Linked DNA regions of Homo sapiens: all the other regions are linked to region 1. Evidence: promoter capture Hi-C in 16 types of primary human blood cells and fetal thymus (Javierre and others, 2016). All regions are on one chromosome and are shown on one strand. The core of a region is centred on a gene start or on the middle of the fragment in contact, and the rest is flanking DNA. Distances in the headings are between cores, read along the strand shown. Region 1 holds the start of ARMC12 (armadillo repeat containing 12). Region 2 overlaps TULP1 (TUB like protein 1). Region 3 has its middle 13 kb from the start of LINC03135. Region 4 has its middle 4.4 kb from the start of LINC03135. Region 5 holds the start of LOC124901310 (a long non-coding RNA gene).

Evidence for each region. Contacts are between HindIII fragments. The CHiCAGO score rates a contact against its expected background, and 5 or more counts as called.
Region 2: a fragment that was not itself captured here is called in contact with the fragment with the promoter of ARMC12 in region 1 in 1 of 17 cell types (naive CD4 T cells); the score reaches 5.4 in naive CD4 T cells.
Region 3: a fragment that was not itself captured here is called in contact with the fragment with the promoter of ARMC12 in region 1 in 10 of 17 cell types (activated CD4 T cells, naive CD4 T cells, M2 macrophages and 7 more); the score reaches 10.1 in activated CD4 T cells.
Region 4: a fragment that was not itself captured here is called in contact with the fragment with the promoter of ARMC12 in region 1 in 5 of 17 cell types (non-activated CD4 T cells, activated CD4 T cells, total CD8 T cells and 2 more); the score reaches 7.0 in non-activated CD4 T cells.
Region 5: a contact is called between a fragment that was not itself captured here and the fragment with the promoter of ARMC12 in region 1, in 17 of 17 cell types (non-activated CD4 T cells, naive CD8 T cells, total CD4 T cells and 14 more). The highest score is 15.4, in non-activated CD4 T cells.

What each region holds. Positions count from the first base shown.
Region 1 is chr6:35,734,999-35,739,160 of GRCh38, reverse strand. It overlaps ARMC12 (armadillo repeat containing 12), which reads right to left and starts at 2,129. Exons shown (of 6, transcript NM_001286574.2): 1 at 1,890-2,129; 2 at 989-1,134; 3 at 643-777. The coding sequence starts at 2,052. It overlaps LOC285847 (a long non-coding RNA gene), which reads left to right and starts at 2,214. Exons shown (of 10, transcript NR_027117.2): 1 at 2,214-2,320; 2 at 3,283-3,398; 3 at 3,797-4,081. RefSeq lists enhancers at 1-23, 632-1,240, 1,241-1,849. The HindIII fragment of the contact is 11,422 bases long and covers 683-4,162 here.
Region 2 is chr6:35,504,137-35,508,298 of GRCh38, reverse strand. TULP1 (TUB like protein 1) reads left to right here. Exons shown (of 15, transcript NM_003322.6): 9 at 2,020-2,025; 10 at 2,126-2,296; 11 at 2,446-2,558. LOC124901309 (a long non-coding RNA gene) reads right to left here. Exons shown (of 2, transcript XR_007059561.1): 2 at 1-72. Among named protein-coding and RNA genes, the nearest start is that of TULP1, 6.7 kb to the left of the region's middle. The HindIII fragment of the contact is 4,634 bases long and covers 1-4,162 here.
Region 3 is chr6:35,528,852-35,533,013 of GRCh38, reverse strand. No RefSeq gene overlaps it. Among named protein-coding and RNA genes, the nearest start is that of LINC03135, 13 kb to the left of the region's middle. The HindIII fragment of the contact is 546 bases long and covers 1,497-2,042 here.
Region 4 is chr6:35,545,975-35,550,136 of GRCh38, reverse strand. No RefSeq gene overlaps it. Among named protein-coding and RNA genes, the nearest start is that of LINC03135, 4.4 kb to the right of the region's middle. The HindIII fragment of the contact is 7,468 bases long and covers 1-4,162 here.
Region 5 is chr6:35,563,374-35,567,535 of GRCh38, reverse strand. LOC124901310 (a long non-coding RNA gene) reads left to right here and starts at 585. Exons shown (of 2, transcript XR_007059562.1): 1 at 585-922; 2 at 4,008-4,162. RefSeq lists a silencer at 671-871. The HindIII fragment of the contact is 4,561 bases long and covers 1-4,094 here.

The sequences.
Region 1 (4,162 bases), core at 880-3,379:
CCCAGCCCTCAGTTTGGTCCAGGAACAGGCCTGGAAGCTCCGCGCCCTGACACCCTGCCCTATGTGTCTCCTCCGTTTAGCTGTTCCTGAGTTGTGTCCTTTATATAAAAAACCAGTAATAGTAAGTAAAGTCCTTTCCTGAGTTCTGGGAGCCATTCTAGCAAATTAGTAGATCTAAAAAGGGAGTTGTGGGAACCCCCGAATTCATAGCGGGCCAGTCAGAAGTCAGACCTATGATTGGTACCTGAAGTCGGGGGGAAGTCTTGGGGGACTCAGCCCTTAACCTGTGAAGTCTGCCCTAACTATGGATAGTGTCTGAACTGAATTGAATTGTTGAACACCCAGCCAGTGTTGGGAATTGGTGTCAGAAAAAACGTGGCAGTGGTAGGGAGCTTGTGGGGTAGTGGGGGTCCTTCTCTTTGGGGTTGAGAGATACCACTAGTGCCTCAATTCAGTTTCATCCTGAAATTCAAAGGCCTTCATGACCCTGCTGGGAATCTGACCACCGTTTTCCCACTTATTTCTGGGTTACAAATTCACACCCAAACAAACTTCTGGAACATGACCATTTATCCTATGGCAATTAAAGGACTTAAGGACTATAGACATCCTGCATGCCCCACCACGCATCCCTGGGCTCACCTGGATTTTGAGCCTGAATTTTCTGATGCCAGAGAAAGCTTTAAGTGTATTCAGAGCTTGGGTTTTGACACTGTTGTCCTTGTCATCCAGCATGTAGCCCAGCAACACGATGTCATCCGTAGTACAAGCAGAGGCCTGGAGTATTGGGGAGAGATGGAAGAGGCAGGAGAAGCGGGTGTTCTGGGCCCACTGCCCCCCATGTCACCAAGATCCCTCCGCACACCCCCCCCCCACCGCTATCAGCCAGAGAGAGGTCCCAGGATATAGTCTGGCCATTCCAGGGGCAGGGATCGGCCGTAACCCCCAGGGGCCAGGCCGGCTAGGGGGGACCTCCTGCTTCCCTTACCTCAGCCTCCAGCAAGTACACACAGCGAGTGATACTGTGCAGGATCATGCTCTTGGCATACTCATCCTGTTTGCACTCCAAAGAGTTGAGGAGCCTCCGGAGCTCACCTGAGTCCCGCCCGTGCCGCTCTCGCTCGACTGCCAGGCCTAGACAGCCACCCCAGCCCAGTTCAGGCTGTGGACTCAGAAGTGATGAAAGAATGGGGTTGGGAAGTAGGGGACAGGGACTTGGGGACAAGGCTGCCTTGCCTTTTCGGAGAAGCCTTCTCGCCATATGCAGGACCACCATGTACAGTTGAACGAATGTTTACTGCACAAGGGCACCCTATCTAATGTTGTATTGTCCATAACGTACCATCATAGATTTGTCCATTTACTCTAACAACTGTCTGGCATATGGCGGTAACAAGTAGTATTTCATCATAACCAGTATGTGGCAATGATATTCCAGCAGATGGCAATAAAGAGTCTTGCAGAAGGGGCTCATTTTCCTACTCTGCACAAAAGAACATGTGGACTAGTGGAAGCTCTGGGCATATAGTAAGTCCTCCAATCTTCCCTTTCCTTAAAGCCTCACGTTCCTAGGGCAGAAAAGGGATGGGGGGAGCTGCCGACACCAAGTTTCCAAGAAGTGGAATCCTGGGAGCCAGAGGAAATGTAGTATTTGGAGACCTGCCAGATGAGTCTGAGGATCCACTTGAGTGAGATCCAGGGACCCTGAGCTAGCATCTCTGGCAGGGCCTTGCCTAGGACGCTGCAGGGTGGGCTTGAGGAAGATGGACAAGAGAAAGACAAAGGAAAGAGGAACTTGGAGGCATCACCTTTGGGCCCTCCCACAGCAGAGGCCTCGGGAGCAGGTGCCTCCTGGGGCAGAGCCCTCTCCCCAGGGCCCGGACACTCACGGGCGATGCAGATGGGTGAGTTGCTACAGAGGGGTGGTTTGCATTTTATGCCAGCCTTGATGGCCTTGTAGAGCAGGTAGATCGCCCCGGCGCCTGTGGCCAGGCTGACTACGCTTTTGCGGATGTCCAGTTGCCCCAGGTATTGGGGGATGCTCTTGCCCATGTCTTCAGTGTTGCCCTGGGCCCAGGTGAGAGCTAGGCCCAAGGCACCTGTGGGGGGCCTTCCGGAACCAGAACTCTGGCAGGGTCAGGAACCAGGGTACCAGAATTGGAACCTAGGCAACAAAGGAAACTGGGGAGATAATGGGATGGAGGGCAGTGGTCAGGAAATGGGGCAGCCAGGAGTGCTCGAGAACAGATGGGGCCAGGCACCATGGCCCACACTTGTAATCCCAGCACTTTGGGAGGCCAAGGCAGGCAGATCACTTGAGGTCAGCAGTTCGAGACCAGCCTGGCCAATATGGTGAAACCTTGTCTCTATTAAAAATACAAAAAAATTAGCCAGGCATTGTGGCGCACACATGTAATCCCAGCTACTCAGGGGACTGAGGCAGGAGAATCGCTTAAGCCTGGGAGGTTGAGGTTGCAGTGAGCTGACACGCCACTGTACTCCAACCTAAGCGACAGAGCAAGACTCCATTTCAAAAAAAAAAAGAGAAGGTTCTGCTTTAGAGACCACAGGAGATGAAGCATAAGACAGAAGGGGAATAAAAGGGGAGAGGGCAGAAGTGTCCTTCACATCTCCTCTTCTTTAAGGGGGGACCCCAGCAGGTAGCTCCAGAGGCTGCCTTTCCACCATTAGAGGGCAGCAGAGGTCCATTTCCGGGCTGGGGCCTTAGGGCATTTCTGGGTGAGGTGTTTGGGGTATGCCCATTGACAACCCTGTTCCTTTTCTTTCCGGGCCCTCCCATATGTGATCTCTCCACCCTAGATCTACCCCTGGGCCTTGGGGTGTTTCTTCAGGTAGGGTTCCCTCCCCGCATCAGAGGATGAAAAGGAGGGGAGTATCTTAGAAAGCATGCACAGACTCTTGAGGCAAATCCACCCTTTTCCAGCATCTGCATGTTGCCCTGAAGTTTACCTGTTTGACAAAGTGCTCTTGAGGACAGCTACCTTTGCATCTCCAGCATAGAATCTTGTACTTAGCAGGTGGTTTAAGTCATGTTCTGCCATTCTTTAAGGACTTGGCGGCAGAACAATGACAGCATCTAGTAACTGGGGCTCCAGACCCTTCTAACCAGAGTGACCTTGGAGGAGAAAGGGATCGCCTTTGCCTTAGTCTGTTTCTGCATTTGTAACCTAAAGGGATTCGGATTTACCATTCTAAAACTCCAGGATTAAAATGTGGGTAAGTCTGTGCCTTTCAGCTAAATTTGGAAGTATCACCTCTCAGCCTCCCCAGGGATATGAGGCGGCTTGTGAGGTCCTCTGGAGTCAGAAGATGCCACCACCCCAGAGGATGTGAGCCCACCTGTGGAGGTCTTGATCCCCACCACTAGGATGGGGCAGGTGAGACCAGACCCTTCCCTCTTCCCCACCAGGGTCTCCCCGCAACTTCTGTCCCCACTCTCTGTTGCAGAACAGGCAAGTGGCCAGCTCCAAACTAGGGCCACGCCCACAGCCAGTGCTGAGCATGCTGCACCAGAACAGGTGTTCACCTACCTGGCCCTGATCCCTTTTTGGGAGAACTGGGACAGAAGGCTCTGGGTCCTGGGCTGCACCCAGGATGGAAGGAGGTAGGGAAACAGCATCTCCAATGATGCTGCGGCCAGCCAGGCCTGCCCACTCAGAGCCTTGGCCCAGTACACCCTAGGCAGCAGGCAGGGAACAAGCAACACTCCTGGGTGGCCATTCTATTCCTGTCCTCAGCCCTCCTCAAGGGTCATCATTCCTGGCACTCTATTTAGCCCCAAGGTGGGTGACTACATGAACTCCCTGTGGTGAGGGGTGAGTAGAAGCCCATGGAAGCCTCCCCACTGCCATGCAACCCCATCGCATCTCCACTGAACTCCGAGCAGAAAACGGCTGCCTGATGGGAACTGTCATTTAGGTTCCCAGGCTACTTTGGTGGATCTGAGAATAAATCCCTCAAGACAAGGTCCTTGCTCTGCCCTTCTCCAGGGTGGGACCCAGAGTTACTGGCCCCTCCATCCCATGGAGCCGATTCTGCAACCCTCACTTCCTAAGCACAGGTAAGGCTCACCTGTTCTTTAAAGACCTCCAAAAAGTGTTCTTTCTTGGCTGCAACCTAACTCCCTCCTGCCACACCTAAG
Region 2 (4,162 bases), core at 680-3,179, 230 kb after region 1:
AATAAGTTCTGGCTTTCTCCACATCGTGTTCCAAACATAGTCTTTTGTTTCCCAGGTTTCTTCTGGAACAACCTAGAGTAGAGAACAGGTGATCACTTGTCCCTGAGCTGAGGGTTCACTGCTCTACATCAGCCTCCCTCAAACACACTGCAAACCTGTGCTCAACAAAAACAGCCATGGCCAGGCAAAGTGGCTCATGCCTGTAATCCCAGCACTTTGGGAGGAGGAGGCAGATGGGTCACTTGAAGTCAGGAGTTCAAACCAGCCTGGCGAATAGTAGAGATGGTGAAACCCCATCTCTACTAAAAATACAAAAATTATCGGGGCATGGTGATGCGCACCTGTAGTCCCAGCTACTTAGGAGGATGAGGCAGGAGAATCACTTGAACCCAGGAGGTGGAGGCTGCAGCGAGCTGAGATCACGCCACTGCATTCCAGCCTGGGCAACAAGAGCGAGGCTCCATCTCAAAAAAATAAAAAATAAATTTTAAAAAATGGCCAACCACAGCACATCTTTGTGGATTCTTCGTGGCTCCCAAATAGCATTGAACCCTCAAATGCACACACCCAGGCTGGCAGTCCATGCTTGCCTCTGTTGGAAAAGTTGGGCTTAGACTCTTGGCTCCCTTCCTGTGAGGGATAGAACATGAGGACAAAGGGCACCAGGTTTGTGAGAACAGAAGGGGCTGTTGTGGGGTCACCAGGCCACCCTAGGGCTTTATGTCACCAAATTGTTCTTAGGAGTTTCTCAATGAGCAAAGTGAGCTTACATATTCATTCATGTGTTAACTATGCATTGCTATGTAACAAATCACCCCAAACTGAGCATCTTAAAACAACATTTACTTTCTTATTCAATTTCTGAGAGCCAGAAATCTAGGAGTGGCTTAGCAGAGTAGTTCTGGCTCAGGGTCTCGGAGGAAGCTGCAGTCAAAATGTCAGCTGGGGCTTCGGTCACTCTGAAGGCTTCACTGGAAATGAAGGATCCACTTCTAAAATAGTTCCCTGTGGTAGGTGTTAGCTGGAGATCTCAGTTCCTTCCTACAGGGACCTCTCCTGGAGGCTGCTTGAGTGTTCTTTTTTTTTTTTTTTTTTGCTTGAGTGTTCTTATGGCATGGCAGCCAACTTCTCCCAAAGTCCAAGAGACAGAGAGCCATATAGAAGCCACAATATCTTTTATGACCTAACCTTGGAGTGGCCCATGATCACTTCTGCCATATTCTACTGGTCACAGGGACCAACCCTGGTATGCAGTGGGAGGAGACTACACAAAGGCACAAATACCAGGAGACAAGGATCACTGGGTGCCATCTTATGATAATGAATATCATCTTGACTATGGTATTCATTATTTACTATACGCTAACAATAAGAGTAGCAGCTAACACTTCCATAGTGCTTAGAACACAGCAGTCCATTCTGTTAGCCCCACTTCACTGCCTGAGACAGTGTGCAAAGGAGGGAAGGTCTTTCTAAAGGCTCTGGACCTCATAGGAGATTGGACAAAACTCATGCCCCAGCCCCACCTCTTACTAGTTATGTGAACTTGGGCAAGTGACTTAACTTCTCTAAGCCTCAGTTTCTTCATCTATACAATGGGGATGACTATCGCAGTGGGGTGATAAGAGGATGAAATGAGTAAATATTTCGAAAGTACTTGAAACTATGGCACCCTGATAGAATTTATGCAAGCGTGTGTTAAATACATAGGTAAGGTCTGTCCCAGGTATCCACCCCTACTATACCTACTTCTCAGATGAGAAAATTGAGTTACAGTGTGGTGAAACTTAACAGTGAAGACAGTTAGTAGTGAAACTAGGATTTGAACCTAGACAGTCTGGCTCCAGAGTGTGTGCTCCTATCCACAAGCTAAGCAGAATCAAAATAAATCACAGAGCTCCCCAGAGCCTCCTAACTTGGCCGTGCCGGGCTGCCAGGGAGCATGAGGGGCAGTGGCTTCCCCGCCTCCAGGGATGCGGCCCCTGCTCTAGCCAGCCTCTCTGTTCTCTCCGCACACAGAAAGCGGTGAGTTGTCCTGCCGGGCTGCCCGTGTCTCAGCACTGGGACCTGCTGGGAGCGGGGGAGCTGGTGCTCTGGGGCTGATGTACCCTCTGCCCCCACCCAGAAGGAGGAGAGGGCCCCGTCTCCCCCCGTGGAGGTGGACGAACCCCGGGAGTTTGTGCTCCGGCCTGCCCCCCAGGGCCGCACGGTGCGCTGCCGGCTGACCCGGGACAAAAAGGGCATGGATCGAGGCATGTATCCCTCCTACTTCCTGCACCTGGACACGGAGAAGAAGGTGGGTGGGGAGAGGCAGCAGAGGAGGGAGTGTGGAGGGATCCGGCATGGGGGCCACGGGACAAACGGGCCTGATTTCTCCCTGCAGCTCACCTCCACCCCTTCCCACCTTCTCTTCCCATCCTCTCACCTGTCTCCCCTTTTCCCCAGGTGTTCCTCTTGGCTGGCAGGAAACGAAAACGGAGCAAGACAGCCAATTACCTCATCTCCATCGACCCTACCAATCTGTCCCGAGGAGGGGAGAATTTCATCGGGAAGCTGAGGTGGGGCTGGGCTTCCTGGGGCTGGGGGGACTTGGGTCAGCAAAAGGCCATAGCCCGTCATCTCTGTCCTGCTGTGCCTGGTAGAGCACCCACCACAGTGGGCACCCTGGAAACGTCCCCTAGCCTAGGGCCTCTCGCTTTGATGTACATAGATCATGTGGGGAGCTTGTTAAAATGGTTGAGTGTGTGGGGTGGGCCCGGGAGTCTACATTTTTAATGAGCACCCAGGCGATGCCCACACTGCTGCCAGCCCAGGGCCTCACTTGGAGCAGGGCATAAGTTCCACGAGGGCAGGCACTGTGCCTGCCTTGTTTAGGGCTGAATTCCTAGCACTGAACACATATTAGCTACTCAACAAGTATTTACTGATCAAGTGAATGAACATATATTCAGCACTATCCTGTGCTGTCTTCCCATACATCTCATCTAATCCTCACCACAAATCTGAGAGCTGAAGGAAGGGGATGCCTGAGTCAGGCCTTATTTCCTAAATGTATGTATTTAGGCTGGGCACAGTGGCTAATGCCTGTAATCCCAGCATTTTGGGAGGCCAAGGCGGGTGGATCACCTGAGGTCAGGAGTCCGAGATCAGCCTGGCCAACATGGTGAAACCCCGTCTCTATTAAAAATACAAAAATTAGCCAGGTGTGGTGGCATGCACCTGGAGTCCCAGCTACCTGGGAGGCTGAGGTGGGAGAATCTCTTGAACCCAAGACGGGGAGGTTGCAGTGAGCTGGGATCATGCCACTGCACTTCCAGCCTGGGTGACAGACCAAGACCCTGCCTCAAAAATAAATGAATAAATAAATGTATGTATTTAACAAAACTTTTATAAGGCCTATTTATGTGTCAGGTGTGATTCTAAGTCACTTCCAGGCCAGGCGTGATGGCTCACACCTGTAATCCCAGCACTTTGGGAGGCTGAGGCGGGCGGATCACAAGGTCAGGAGATCAAGACCACCCTGGCTAACACAGCGAAACCCCGTCTCTACTAAAAATACAAAAAAAAAAAAATTAGCCCAGCGTGCTGGCAGGCCCTGTAGTCCCAGCTACTCAGGAGGCTGAGGCAGAAGAATGGCGTGAACCCGGGAGGCGGAGCTTGCAGTGAGCAGAGATCATGCCACTGCACTCCAGCCTGGGCGACAGAGTGAGACTCAGTCTGAAAAAAATAAAGAAAAAAAAAGTCACTTCCAAATGTTAACCCATTCAATCCTCTTATTGTCCAAATGAGGGAAATGCTGTTGCTCAGCCCATTTTATAGATGGGGAAGTTGGGGCTCAGAGAGTTTAAATACCTTGCCTAAGATCTCACAGCTAGTAATAGTAAGAGATGGAGTTGGGATTTTAACACTGCCTAGTCTCCTTGTAGATTCAGCCCTTTTTTTTGTTTTGTTTTGGAGACTGGGTCTTACTCTGTCGCCCAGGCTGGAGTGCAGTGATGTGATCAAGGCCATGGCTCACTGCAGCCTCGACCTCCCAGGCTCAAGTGATCCTCCCACCTTAGCCTCCTGAGTAGCTGGGACTACAGGCACATGCCACCGTGCCTAGATAATTTGGCAGGTGGGGGGCAGAGGGCGGGTGTTTTTTGTAGAGACAGCGTTGTCT
Region 3 (4,162 bases), core at 520-3,019, 210 kb after region 1:
AAATAATCCAGGGATGGAAATAGATCATTCAGGCCAGGAATGGTGGCTCACGCCTATAATCCTAGCACTTTGGAAGGTGGAGGTGGGAGGATTGCTTGAGGCCAGGAGTTTGAGGCCAGCCTGGGCAACATAGCTAGACCCCTTCTCTACAAAAAAATCTAAAATTAAAAAATTAAAAATTATCCAGGCATGGTGGCATACACCTGTATTCCCAGCTACTCGAGAGGCTGAGGTAGGAGGATCGCTTGATCCCAGGGGATTGAGGCTGCAACGAGCTATGATCACACCTCTGTCCTCCAGCCTGGGCGACAGAACAAAACCTTATCTCTAAAAACAAAACAAAAGACACACACACACGCACACACACACACAACTGTTTTGCAGAGGCTGGAGGGGTATAAGCTGGTAGAAGAAGAGAGACTGCCTGGTAGACCAGAGGGGGGAGTAGGTGTGGGTAAGGATGGTTTGAATTAGATGTCAATTTTAAACTGTGTGAAGGGCTGCATGGTTTTATAAGGAGTATAAAAATATGAAAGCACAGGTGTGGTCAACCCTTAAAAGTATGGCTATTAATGGGAGAAAAAGGCGATGCCAGGACCTGGAGGGGTTTGGGGAGGTTTATTCTAAGACACGGAGACTAAGCATGTTCACAGGCTTATGGGCGTGGGCCAGCTGGGAGGGAGGGGGACTGAAGGGGATTGAAAAGAGATAATGAGTGCAGCAAGACAGGATGGGATCTGCACATCAGAACCACCAGGAGCTTTTTCAAAATTCCCATCTGGGCTCACTCCAGAACTACTCACTTAGACTCTCCAAATGTTGAGCCAGAGAACCTGGGCTTTATTTTATTTATTTATGTATTTTGAAACAGAGTCTTGCTCTGTCGCTCAGGCTGGAGTGCAGTGGCGTGATCTCAACTCACTGCAACCTCCACCTCCCAGGTTCAAGTGATTCTCCTGCCTCAGCCTTCCTTGTAGCTGGGATTACAGGCACCTGCCACCATGCCTGGCTAATTTTTGTATTTTTGTAGAGATGAGGTTTTACCATGTTGGCCAGGCTGGTCTTGAACTCCTGGCCTTAGGTGATCTGCCTGCCTCAGCCTCCCAAAGTGCTGGGATTACAGGCATGAGCCACCATGCCCAGTCAGAACCTTGGTTTTATTATTATTATTATTATTATTATTATTATTTTTAGATGGAGTCTTGCTCTGTCGCCCAAGCTGAAGTGCGGTGGTTCAATCTCGGCTCACTGCAGCCTCAGCCTCCTGGGTTCCAGTGATTCTCTTGCCTCAGCCCCCCAGGTAGCTGGGATTACAGGCACGCAGCACCATGCCCGGTTAATTTTTGTACTTTTAGTAGAGACGGGGTTTCACCATGTTGGCTGGGCTGGTCTCGAACTCCTGACCTCAGGTGATCCACACACCTCAGCCTCCCAAAGTGCTGGATTACAGGTGTCAGCCACCGCACCTGGCCAAGAACCTGGGCTTTAAATAAGCTTCTTGAATAGCATCAAATGATAAATCGATTACACAGGAATGAATGTAACAAAATATTTGCAAAGAACACTACAGAAGGCCAGGTGCGGTGGCTTACACCTGTAATCCCAGCACTTTGGGAGCCGAAGCGGGTGGATCACCTGAAGTCAGGAGTTTGAGACAGCCTGGACAACATGGTAAAACCCTGTCTCTACTAAAATTACAAAAATTAGCTAGGTGTGGTGGTGCACGCCTATAATCCCAGCTACTCAGGTGGCTGAGGCAGGAGAATCGCTTGAACCCGAGAGGTGGAGGTTGCAGTGAGCCAAGATCACACCACTGTACTCCAGCCTGGGTTACAAAGCAAGAGCCTGTCTTAAAACAAACAAACAAACAAAAAACAAAAAACAAAAAAGCACACACACAGGGAAAGAGTAAACTTTTCAGTAAATCAACTGAGTGTGCTCCTATGGGGAAAAAAATGAAACCTGACCCTTACCTCACACCATCAACAGATAAATTCCAGGTGGGCTATAGTCTTCAATACGAAAAGCAAAAGAATAAAGCTTATAAAAAATAATATAGGGTTAGGTGTAGGGGCTAACACCTGTAATCCCAGCATCTTGGGAACCCAAGGCAGGAGGATTACTTGAGTCTAGGAGTTTGAGACCAGCCTGGGCCACATAGGGAAACCCTGTCTCTAAAAAAGTTCAAAAAATCAGCTGGGCACACACCTGTGGTCCCAGTTACTCAGGAGGCTGAGATGGGAGGATCACTTGAGCCTGAGAGGTTGAGGCTGCAGTGAGCCATGATCATACCACTGCACTCCAGCCTGGGTGACTGAGTGAAACACTGTCTCAAAAAGTAATATAAATAAATAATAAATAAATAAAATAGGCCGGGCGCGGTGGCTCATGCCTGTAATCCCAATACTTTGGGAGGCCAAGGCAGGCAGATCATCTGAGGTCAGGAGTTCGAGACCAGCCTGACCAACATGGAGAAACCCCGTCTCTACTAAAAATACAAAATTAGCTGGGCGTGTTGGCACAGACCTGTAATCCCAGCTACTTAGGAAGCTGAGGCGGAAAGATCACTTGAACCTGGGAGGCGGAGGTTGCGGTGAGCCAAGATCACGCCATTGCACTCCAGCCTGGGCAACAAGATCAAAACTCTGTCTCAAAATAAGTAAATAAATAAAAGTAAAATAAAAAATAATAGGGAGTAGCCAGGTGTATGGCTGGCACCTGTAGTCCTAGGTACTTGGGAGGCTGAGGCAGTAGGATCACTTGAGTCCAGGAATTTGAGACTGCAGCGAGTTATGATCGTGCCGCTGCACTCCAGCCTGGACAACAGAGTGAGACCCTGTCTCTAAAAAATAATAATAAAATGTTTAAAAATTAATTAAGGCAATAAAAATTAAAAATAAATTTTAAAAATTAATGTATAATTCCATTTATATAACACTCCAAAGCAGGCAAAACTAATCCACATACCCATAGAAATCAGGGTGGTGGTGCCTTTGAAGGTGAGGAAAAGGATGAGGCTTTTGGCACCTGACAATATCTATTTCTTGACCTAGTTGAGGTTACAAAGGAGTTGGCTTCATAGTAATGCATTAACTTGTACATTTATGTTTTATGCACTTCTCTGCAATAAGTATGTTTTACTTCACATAAAGGTTTTAATAAAAAAGAAATCTTCCCTGTAATTTTTTTCTTTTATTTATTTATTTTTTTTGTGACAAGGTCTGGCTCTGTTGCCCAGGCTGGAGTACAGTGGTATTATCTCAGCTCACTGTAACCTCTGCCTCCTGGGCTTAAGTGATCCTCTCACCTCAGTCTCCTGAGTACCTGAGACTACAGGTGCGCACCACCATGCCTGGCTAATTTTGTATTTTTTGTAGAGGCAGGGTTTCACCTGTTGCCAAGGATGGTGTCAAACTTGTGAGCTCAAGTGATCCATCCACCTCAGCATCCCAAAGTGCTGGGATTATAGAAGTGAGACACCTTGCCCAGCCCCAAATAATTCCGATGGACAACCACATTTAGAGAGACTCCTGCTCTAGAGCCTGCTGGAGAGACACTATGAAAGTCAAGTCTGGGCCGGGCGCAGTGGCTCATGCCTGTAATCCCAGCACTTTGGGAGGCCAGGGCGGGTGGATCACCTGAGGTCAGGAGTTCGAGACCAGCCTGACGAATATGGAGAAACCCCGTCTCTACTAAAAATACAAAATTAGCCGGGCATGGTGGCACATGCCTGTAATCCCAGCTACAAGGGAGGCTGAGGCAGGAGAATCGCTTGAACCTGGGAGGCGGAGGTTGCGGTGAGCCGAGACCGCGCCATTGCACTCCAGCCTGGGCAAGAAGAGCGAAACCCCATCTCAAAAGAAAAAAAAAAGTTAAGTCTGTGGCCGGGCACGGTGGCTCACACCTGTAATCCCAGCACTTTGGGAAGCTGAGGCGGGCGGATCCCCTGAGGTCAGGAGTTTGAGACCAAACTGGCCAACATGGTGAAACCCCATCTCTACTAAAAATACAAAAATTAGCTGGGTGTGGTGGTGCATGCCTGTAATACCAGCTACTTGGGAAGCTGAGGCAGGAGAATCGCTTGAAGCTAGGAGGCGGAGGTTGCAGTGAGCCGAGATCGCACCACTGCACTCCAGCCTGGGGCACAAGAGCGAGACTTCAT
Region 4 (4,162 bases), core at 493-2,992, 190 kb after region 1:
GCTCTAGAAATAGATTCTTCTCCCTCCCCAGGATTTGTTGTAATTACTGTTGTTTGCTTAGTGACTTTTCTGACTTAATTCTGTGAAGTCTATATTCTGTGTTGTATATGGCTACTGAAGTCTTTTCTTGGTTAGCTTAGTGGTCAGCCAATGATGACACAGATTTCTGTCACTGCCTGGAACCAGCAAGCCTCACAGCCTTTGCCCAGGGGCTCTGGGTGCATGTTGGGGTGTGCCTTCCACAGTCAGCCTGGCAGTTGACAACTCTGCCCCAGCATTGACCTACTCCTTGGAAAAGGCCCTGGCTCTTATTCCACCTGAAAAGCTCACCCTCTCAAATAAATTAAAGATGAATCAGTAGGGGATCTATGCAAAGACACTAGAAGAAAAAAGGAGGAAAGGGGCCAGGTGTGGTGGCTTATGCCTATCATCCCAGAACTTTGGGGGGCTAAGAGGGAAGGATCACTTGAGCCCAGTAATTCAAGACCAGTCTGGCCAACACAGGGAAACATTGTTTCTACAACATAAAAAATAAATTTAAAAAAAAGAAAAAAGGAAGAAAGGAACAAGATAAATATACAAAAACTGAAGAACACTTATTAGAAAATTTTTACCACTGAGCAGGTGAAAAATTCAAATAAGTATTTCATTTAAAAATTTAAAAAAAAAAAAAACTCTTCCGTAAAGCCAAAGCACAAATAAGAAACTAAGGTTGCCAGGCACGTTGGTTCACGACTGTAATTGCAGCACTTTGGGAGGCTGAGGCGGGTGGATTGCTTGAGGTCAGGAGATCGAGACCAGCCTGACCAACATGGTAAAACCCTGTCTCTACTAAAAAAAAAAAAAAATTAGCCAGGCATGGTGGCAAGTGCCTGTAATCCCAGCTACTTGGGAGGCTGAAGCAGGAGAATCACTTGAACCCAGGAGGCGGAGGTTATAGTGAGCCAAGATCATGCCACTGCACTCCAGCCTGGGTGACAGAGCGAGACTCCGTCTCAGAAAAAAAAAAAAAAAAAAGAAAGAAAGAAAGAAACTGAGGCCAGGCATGGTGGCTCATGCCTGTAATTCCAGTGCTTTGGGAGTCTGAGTGAGGAGGATCACCTGAGGCCAGGAGTTCAAGACCACCCTGGGCAACATAGTGAGACCCCATCCCTACAAAAAATTAAGAATAGGCCAGGCCTAGTAGATTCTTGCCTGTAATTCTAGCACTTTGGGAGGCTAAGATGGGAGGATTGCTTGAGGCCAGGAGTTCTACACCAGACTGGGCAAGATGGCAAGATCCCATCTCTACAAAAAATTTAAAAATTAGCTGGGCATGGCATGCACCTGTGGTCCCAGCTACTCAGGAGGCTGAGTGAGGAAGATTTATTGAGCCTAGGAATTTGAGGCAGCAGTGAGCTATGATCATGCCACTGCATTTCAGCCTGGGTGACAAAGAGGGACCCCATCTCTTAAAAAAAAATTAATACATATGTATTTTTAAATGGCCAGGTGCGGTGGCTCATGCCTGTAATCCCAGCACTTTGGGAGGCTGAGGCAGGTGGATCACGAGGTCAGGAGTTCAAGTCCAGCCTGGCCAACATGGTGAAACCCCATCTCTACTAAAAAAAAATACAAAAATTAGCCGGCTCTGGTGGTGGGCACCTGTAATCCCAGCTACTTTGGAGGCTGATGCAGGAGAATCACATAAACCCAGGAGGCAGAGATTGCAGTGAGCCAAGAAAGCGCCACTGCACTCCAGTCTGGGCAAAAGAGTAAGACTCCATCTTGAAAAAAAATTTTTTTTTAATTAAAAAAAAGCCAGGCATGGTGGTGCAGGCCTGTAGTCCTGGCTACTTGGAGTCTGAGACAGGAGGATCTCTCGAGCCCAGGAGTGCAAGGCTGTAGTGAACTAGGATTGTGTCACTGCATTCCAGCCTGGGTGACAGAGTGAGACTCTGTCTCAAAAAAGAGAGAGAGAAAGAGCTGGCAAAACCCAGGAAATACGTGGAAGAGAAAAATTAAAGCAGCACAGAGGAGAAGAGAAAATGGAAAGTATCACAGGAAAAGCAGATGCCACCAAAAACACAGAGAGGACTGTAACAAAGTGAGTGAGAAAATGGAAAGGGGATAGTTAAATGGGAAGTTTACCCTGTAAGCTCTTCTTCCTAGATAGCTAAAAGGAAATGACATATGGCAAACGGACAAGAGAGCTAATAGATACGCAGTTGTAGTTCCTAAGGAAACAAAAGAACAAACATGAAGACAGAATCCTGAAACTGTTTCCAGCACTAAGAAAACAGGATTATGCATCTTCAAAGGCCATGTCCCAATAAAAGTGGATATAAACAGTCAACATTTCCAAATGAACTGACGTTCACAGATAAGGATACAATTCTTTGAACTGACAGGCTAACGGACCAAATCACCAGTAAGAAGAAAAGAATGTGCGGGGCTCACCCATCTCTGCAACTGCGACCCAATGTTATAGGACAGCGGAGCAAACAACACCTAGAAATCCTGAAAGATGCAAATGTAACCCAAGACGTTTATACCCAGCCCACACATTTCTGAACAGGCAAAACTCAAGGAATGTTGCTCTTGTGAGCTCCTCCTAAGGAAAATACTCAAAGGTGAAGCTCAGCCATCCAGGATGGGAGCCCAAGCTAATAGTCTGGCACAGCAGAGCTCCCGGGATGGCTGAGCAAGGGCTCCCACGCCTGCGCTCAGTGTAGAACTCACGCCTTTCATACCCTGGGGGACCATTCCAATGCCCCCTTCTCTATACAAGAAATGATTTTCAGTTAATAACCATGTTCTCATTAATAATTATTTTCTTCATTACTTAATTTTAAAACAAAAAATTAACTTCAAATTTTAAAAATATTATTCAATCAAATGAAATATTTCATGTACCAATTAAAAGTTATACTGATTAAAAAAAACTACACCTTAAGCTGACATTCTATTTTGCTGTTTTAAATTCAAAAAACAGCAAATTTATGGATTTGGGATGGGATTACAGGTATGGCAACAGGCACCTGTAATCCCATCTATTTAAGAGGCTAGGGCAGGCCAGGTGTGGTGGCTCACACCTGTAATCCCAACATTTGGGAGGCCAAGGTGGGTGGATCGTTTGAGGTCAGGAGTTCGAGACTAGCCTGGCCAACATGGCGAAACCCTGTCTCTATTAAAAATACAAAAATCAGCTGGGCGTGGTGGTGGACACCTGTAATCCCAGCTACTTGGGAGGTCTAGGCACAACAATCACTTGAATCCGGGAGGTGGAAGTTGCAGTGAGCTGAGATTGTGCCACTGCACTCCAACCTGGACAACAGAGCGAGACTCTGTCTAAAAAGAAAAAAAGAAAAAAAAAAAAGAAACTAGGGCGGGAGGATGGCTTGAGCCCAGGAGTTCCAGTCCAGTCTGGGCAACATCGCAAGACCCCATCTCAACTATAAAAAAAAAAAAAAAAAAGAATTAAAAACAAATTAAAACTCCAAGCAATCATATAACTGAATTGAAATGATTCAAGTTGTTTAATCATTTTTACAAGCACAGCATACAATCACTTCTATACACTCTGTGTACCATCATTTATTTCATATTCACTAAATGCAGAAGTATGTTGTACGGTGGGGCTAAAGACACAAACCACACTGAAGAGAGCAGAAAGCATTTCAAATCTTTAGGGACCTACTCTCCAAATAAGTAGCTGTGTTTGTTGAGGGGGGAGTAATTTTCCGAATTAGCTTCCATGTAGAATATAAAGGATAACTAATTAAAATGTGCTAATTTGAAGGATATAGAGGGTTAATAATTTCATTTAAGTTCTTGGGTACATGTGCAGGATATACAGTTTTGTTACATAGGTAAACATGTGCCATGATGGTTTGCTGCACCTATCAACCTATCACCTAGGCATTAAGCCCAGCATGAATTAGCTATTTATCCTGATGCTCTCCCTCCCCACAGATAGAGGGGTTTTTTAGTTTTTTTTTAATTGAAACTCAAGGCTGGGCACAGCGGCTCACGCCTATAAACCCAGCACTTCAGGAGGCTGAGGCGGGCGAATCACATGAGGTCAGGAGTTCCAGGCCAGCCTAGTCAACATGGTGAAACCCCGCCTCTATTAAAACTACAAAAATTAGCTGGGCATGGTGGCGCATGCCTCTAATCCCAG
Region 5 (4,162 bases), core at 565-3,064, 170 kb after region 1:
TTTTTTTCTTTTTTGAGACAGAGTCTCTCGTTCTGTTGCCCAGGCTGGAGTGCAGTGGCACAATCTTGGCTCACTGCAACCTCCACCTCCCGGGTTCAAGTAATTCTTGTTCCTCAGCCTCCCAAGTAACTGGGCATGGGCCATCATGCCCGGCTTTTTTGTATTTTTAGTAGAGACGGGGTTTCACCATGTTGGCCAGGCTAGTGTTAAATACAGTAAGAAGTTCTTCTTCAAAGGTTTAGCTTGTTTAAGTTTCCTTGTCCTCTGTTCCCTCCTTTCAAGGCCAGACTTCCTTACTCTCTGTGTCCCCCTGCCCTGGTAAACAACCTTCCCACCAGTCCTTATCTATACAGCCCACATTCCACATCTGCTACCCACTCTGTGAATTACCCCTCCCGTCACAACGACCCTCCCCGCAGAAACTGTTCCTCCCACCCCCCACCAGTGTAACCGCATTCTTGCACTTTTCAAGTTAGCCAACCGGGTTCAGCTTGGATTGGTCCAGCTCCAGCCAATGGAGACAGGACACAGTAGCGGGCACAAGCTGTGTTAGGAATAAAAACCCCTTCCCTCCTTTGTTTGGGGTGCTCTCGTGGCGACCAGACCTACAAGAAGCACCCTTCTGCAGAAGCAAATTTGCCTTGCTGAGAGATCCTTTGTCTCAGTGCTGGTTCTTCTTTGCAGCACTGAGCATTTGTTTCCAACAAATTTGGTGGCCCATATGGGGACCTCATTCTCCTCCGGGAAAGGGTCTCTGATCACTTCTCATGAGGAGACGCATCCCGCTAACTCATTGCAGTGGCCTCAAGGGTAAAGAATCGGGACCCACCCAGTGCAACCAATAAACCCAGACTCTTAGCAACACAGGAAGAAAAGGCCTACAGTTACTGTGGTGAGCAGGTAACGCTATGCACAGACCAAGGTAAGAAAAACTGTGGGGGTGGTGAAGTACTTCCTTGGTGGTAGGGACAGTTTGGAGGTTAAAAGTGTGTAAATAAGATGCACAATTAAGTGCAAAGCGAGTGTGGAGTAAAGTAAAGGAGTGCAAGAAATCTCCAGTGGGGGAGCTGAGCCTCCAGGGAAAGGGAGCAAAAAAAAAACAATCTCTAGTAAAAGAGGTTGAGCCAGGAGGCCGAGGCGGGTGAATCACGAGGTCAGGAGATCGAGACCGTCCTGGCTAACACAGCGAAACCCCATCTCTACTAAAAATACAAAAAAAAAAAAAAAATTAGCCGGGCGTGATGGCGGGCGCCTGTAGTCCCAGCTACTCGGGAGGCTGACGCCAGGGAATGGCGTGAACCTGGGAGGTGGAGCTTGCAGTGAGCCAAGATCGTGCCACTGCACTCCAGCCTGGGTGACAAAGCGAGACTCTGTGTCAAAAAAAAAAAAAAAAAAAAAGAGGTTGAGCCCCACACACACTCAGGTTGAGCCTTCAGGGAAAAGGGTGCAAGAAATCTCTAATAGGAGAGACTGAGCCCCCATTAACTTCCAGGATGGGAAATACCCCTAGTAAAACAAGAACTACAAAGGACCAAACATAAGAAAAAGCAACAGATGATAAAATATTGTTGTTTTTTTTGAACCAAAGAAACTATTCTTAAACCTTTAGTTTTCTGGCCAAGTTTTGGGTCAAATAAGGATTAGATTTGTCAACTTTTAATAAAGTATGTAAATAACAAAAGTCCTGTCTCCCAGGAAGAAATAGACTATGCCCTGCACTGGCGGCAGGGGCCTGTCCTCTACCCCCTAAAAACTGCAGGAAAAAAAGCCAGAAAATACCTCCCCTAAAGAAAGTAAAATCCCTAACCCCAAACAGTCCACTAGCACATGGGATTCAAAATTTCCCTTTCCCCTCCTCCTCAAAAAAGTCTACCCCAACCCTTTTTCCCTTAAGGGAAGTGCCTCTAGGAGGAGGGGAAATTGGCTTTGTAAATGCCCCTTAACTAGTTCAGAGGTCAGAAACCTAAGGAAGAAACTTAAACCACTATTAGATGATCTTTTTAGGGTTGTGGATCAAATTAACCGATTTTTAGGACCACAAGTATACACTTGGGCTGAGCTAATGTCCATCTTAAGTATTCTCTTTTCGGGAGAGGAAAGAACCATGATCCGCAGGGCTGCTATGATAGTCTGAGAGCGCAAACACCTTCCCAGTCAAAATATCCCTGCAGCAGAACAAAAATCGCCGGCCCAAAACCCCCAATGGGATAATAACAATGCAGCCCACCAAGAAAACATGAAAGGCCTTAGGAAAATGATAGTTAAAGGGATTCGGGAATCAGTGCCTCAAACCCAAAATATTTCCCGAGCATTTAATATGCAGCAAGGAAAAAACAAAGGGCCCACGGAGTTTTTAAACAGACTCAAGGAACAGGTAAGAAAATATACAGGCTTAAACATAAAGGATCCCCTTGGACAGGGGATGTTAAAGCTCCATTTTGTTACTAGTAGCCAAATATCACAAAGAAATTACAAAAACAGAGAACTGGAAAGATCAGCCTATAGAGGGAATGGAGGGAGTCAGGGAGAGAGAGAAAGAGAGGCAAAGAGAGAAGATGGAGAGGCAAGGAGAGACAGAGAGACAAAGAGAGGCAGAAAGAGAAAGACAGAGAGAGAGAGGGAGGAAAAGACAGAGAGCCAGAGGGAGAGGGAGAGAAAGAGAGGCAGAGAGAGAGAGAAAGAAGACAAAACAAATGTTTCAAATGTAAAAGAATAGGTCACTTCAAAAGAGAATGTCCCAAATGGGAAAAAGAAACAAAAGTCATATATAAAAGCAGATCAGCTAATATTAAATTTCTGTTAATTCCAGAGGCAAGAACAAACCTATTAGGGAGAGATCTAATGTTAAAATTTGGCTTAAGCCTCTACATTAATCAGGGAAAACTTCTCACCTCCCTGAACTTACCACCACAGATTATGAAAAGTGTATCCATCCTGATACATGGTCAAAAAAAGGACATCGAGAGAAATTACCAGTTCCTCCAATCGAGGTCAAATTAAAAACTCCCAGGAAAATAGTAAAAAGAAAACCCTTCCTTTGAAAGCCGGGCAAATAATCTAGCTGACCAAATAGCCAAGCAAGCTGCCTTTTCCCAAGCAGTACCCATTTTCCATTCAGCCCCTTGCCTTCCCCTCCAGCTGCGGTCCCCATCTTCTCCCATAAAGACCAAAAAAATGTTAAAAGAAATAGGAGCCAAGAAAAGCTCAGAGGGAAGGTGGGTACTACCAGATGGGAGAAAATGTTGTCTAAACCTCTCATGAGGGAAATATTGTCGCAGCTCCATCAAGGATCTCACTGGGGACCCCAAGCCATGTGTGGTGCAGTCCTTAGAGTTTACAGGTGTATAAGCATATACACTCTTGCTAAGCAAGCAGTTACAGAGTGTGCAGAAAAACTAATAAACAAATCCTAAAAAGGCAACCTACTGGGGGCAGAAATCCAGGGCTAAGACCATTCCAAAGTGCTCAAATTAATTACACTGAGATGCCCCCAGTCGTTTGCCTGAAGTACTTGTTGGTAATAGCAGACCACTTTACTCGCTGGGTAGGAGCCACCCCCTTCTCAAGTGCAACCACCAGTAATGTAGTTAAAGCATTAGTTAAAAACATTATACCCAGGTTTGGACTAATAGAAAACATGGATTCAGACAATGGAACCCATTTCACTGCACGTGTCATTAAAAAGCTAGCCCAGGTGCTAGACATAAAACAGGAATGCCATATCCCTTGGCAGGAAGGGTAAAAAGAATGAACCAGACTCTTAAAAAACCACCTCACCAAATTAATCCTAGAAACCCAGCTACCCTGGACTAAATGTCTCCCCATTGCCTTATTAAGAATCAGAACCATCCCTTGGAAAGATATCAGCTTATCCCCTTATAAAACGCTATATGGGCTACCTTATGTACATTCCACTACTGACATTCCTACATTTAAAACAAAATGTCAGTTCCTCAAAAATGATATACTTGGTCTATCTTCCACTTTCTCTTCTCTTAAAACCAAAGGTCTCTTAGCACAGGTGCTGCCCCTGGAATTCCCAGAACATCAACATCAGCTCCCGTCCTCATCAAAGGGTGGAAAAAAGGAAAGCTTGAACCAGCTTGGGAAGGACCTTATCTAGTGCTCCTGGCCACTGAAACTGCATCCGAACAGCAAAAAA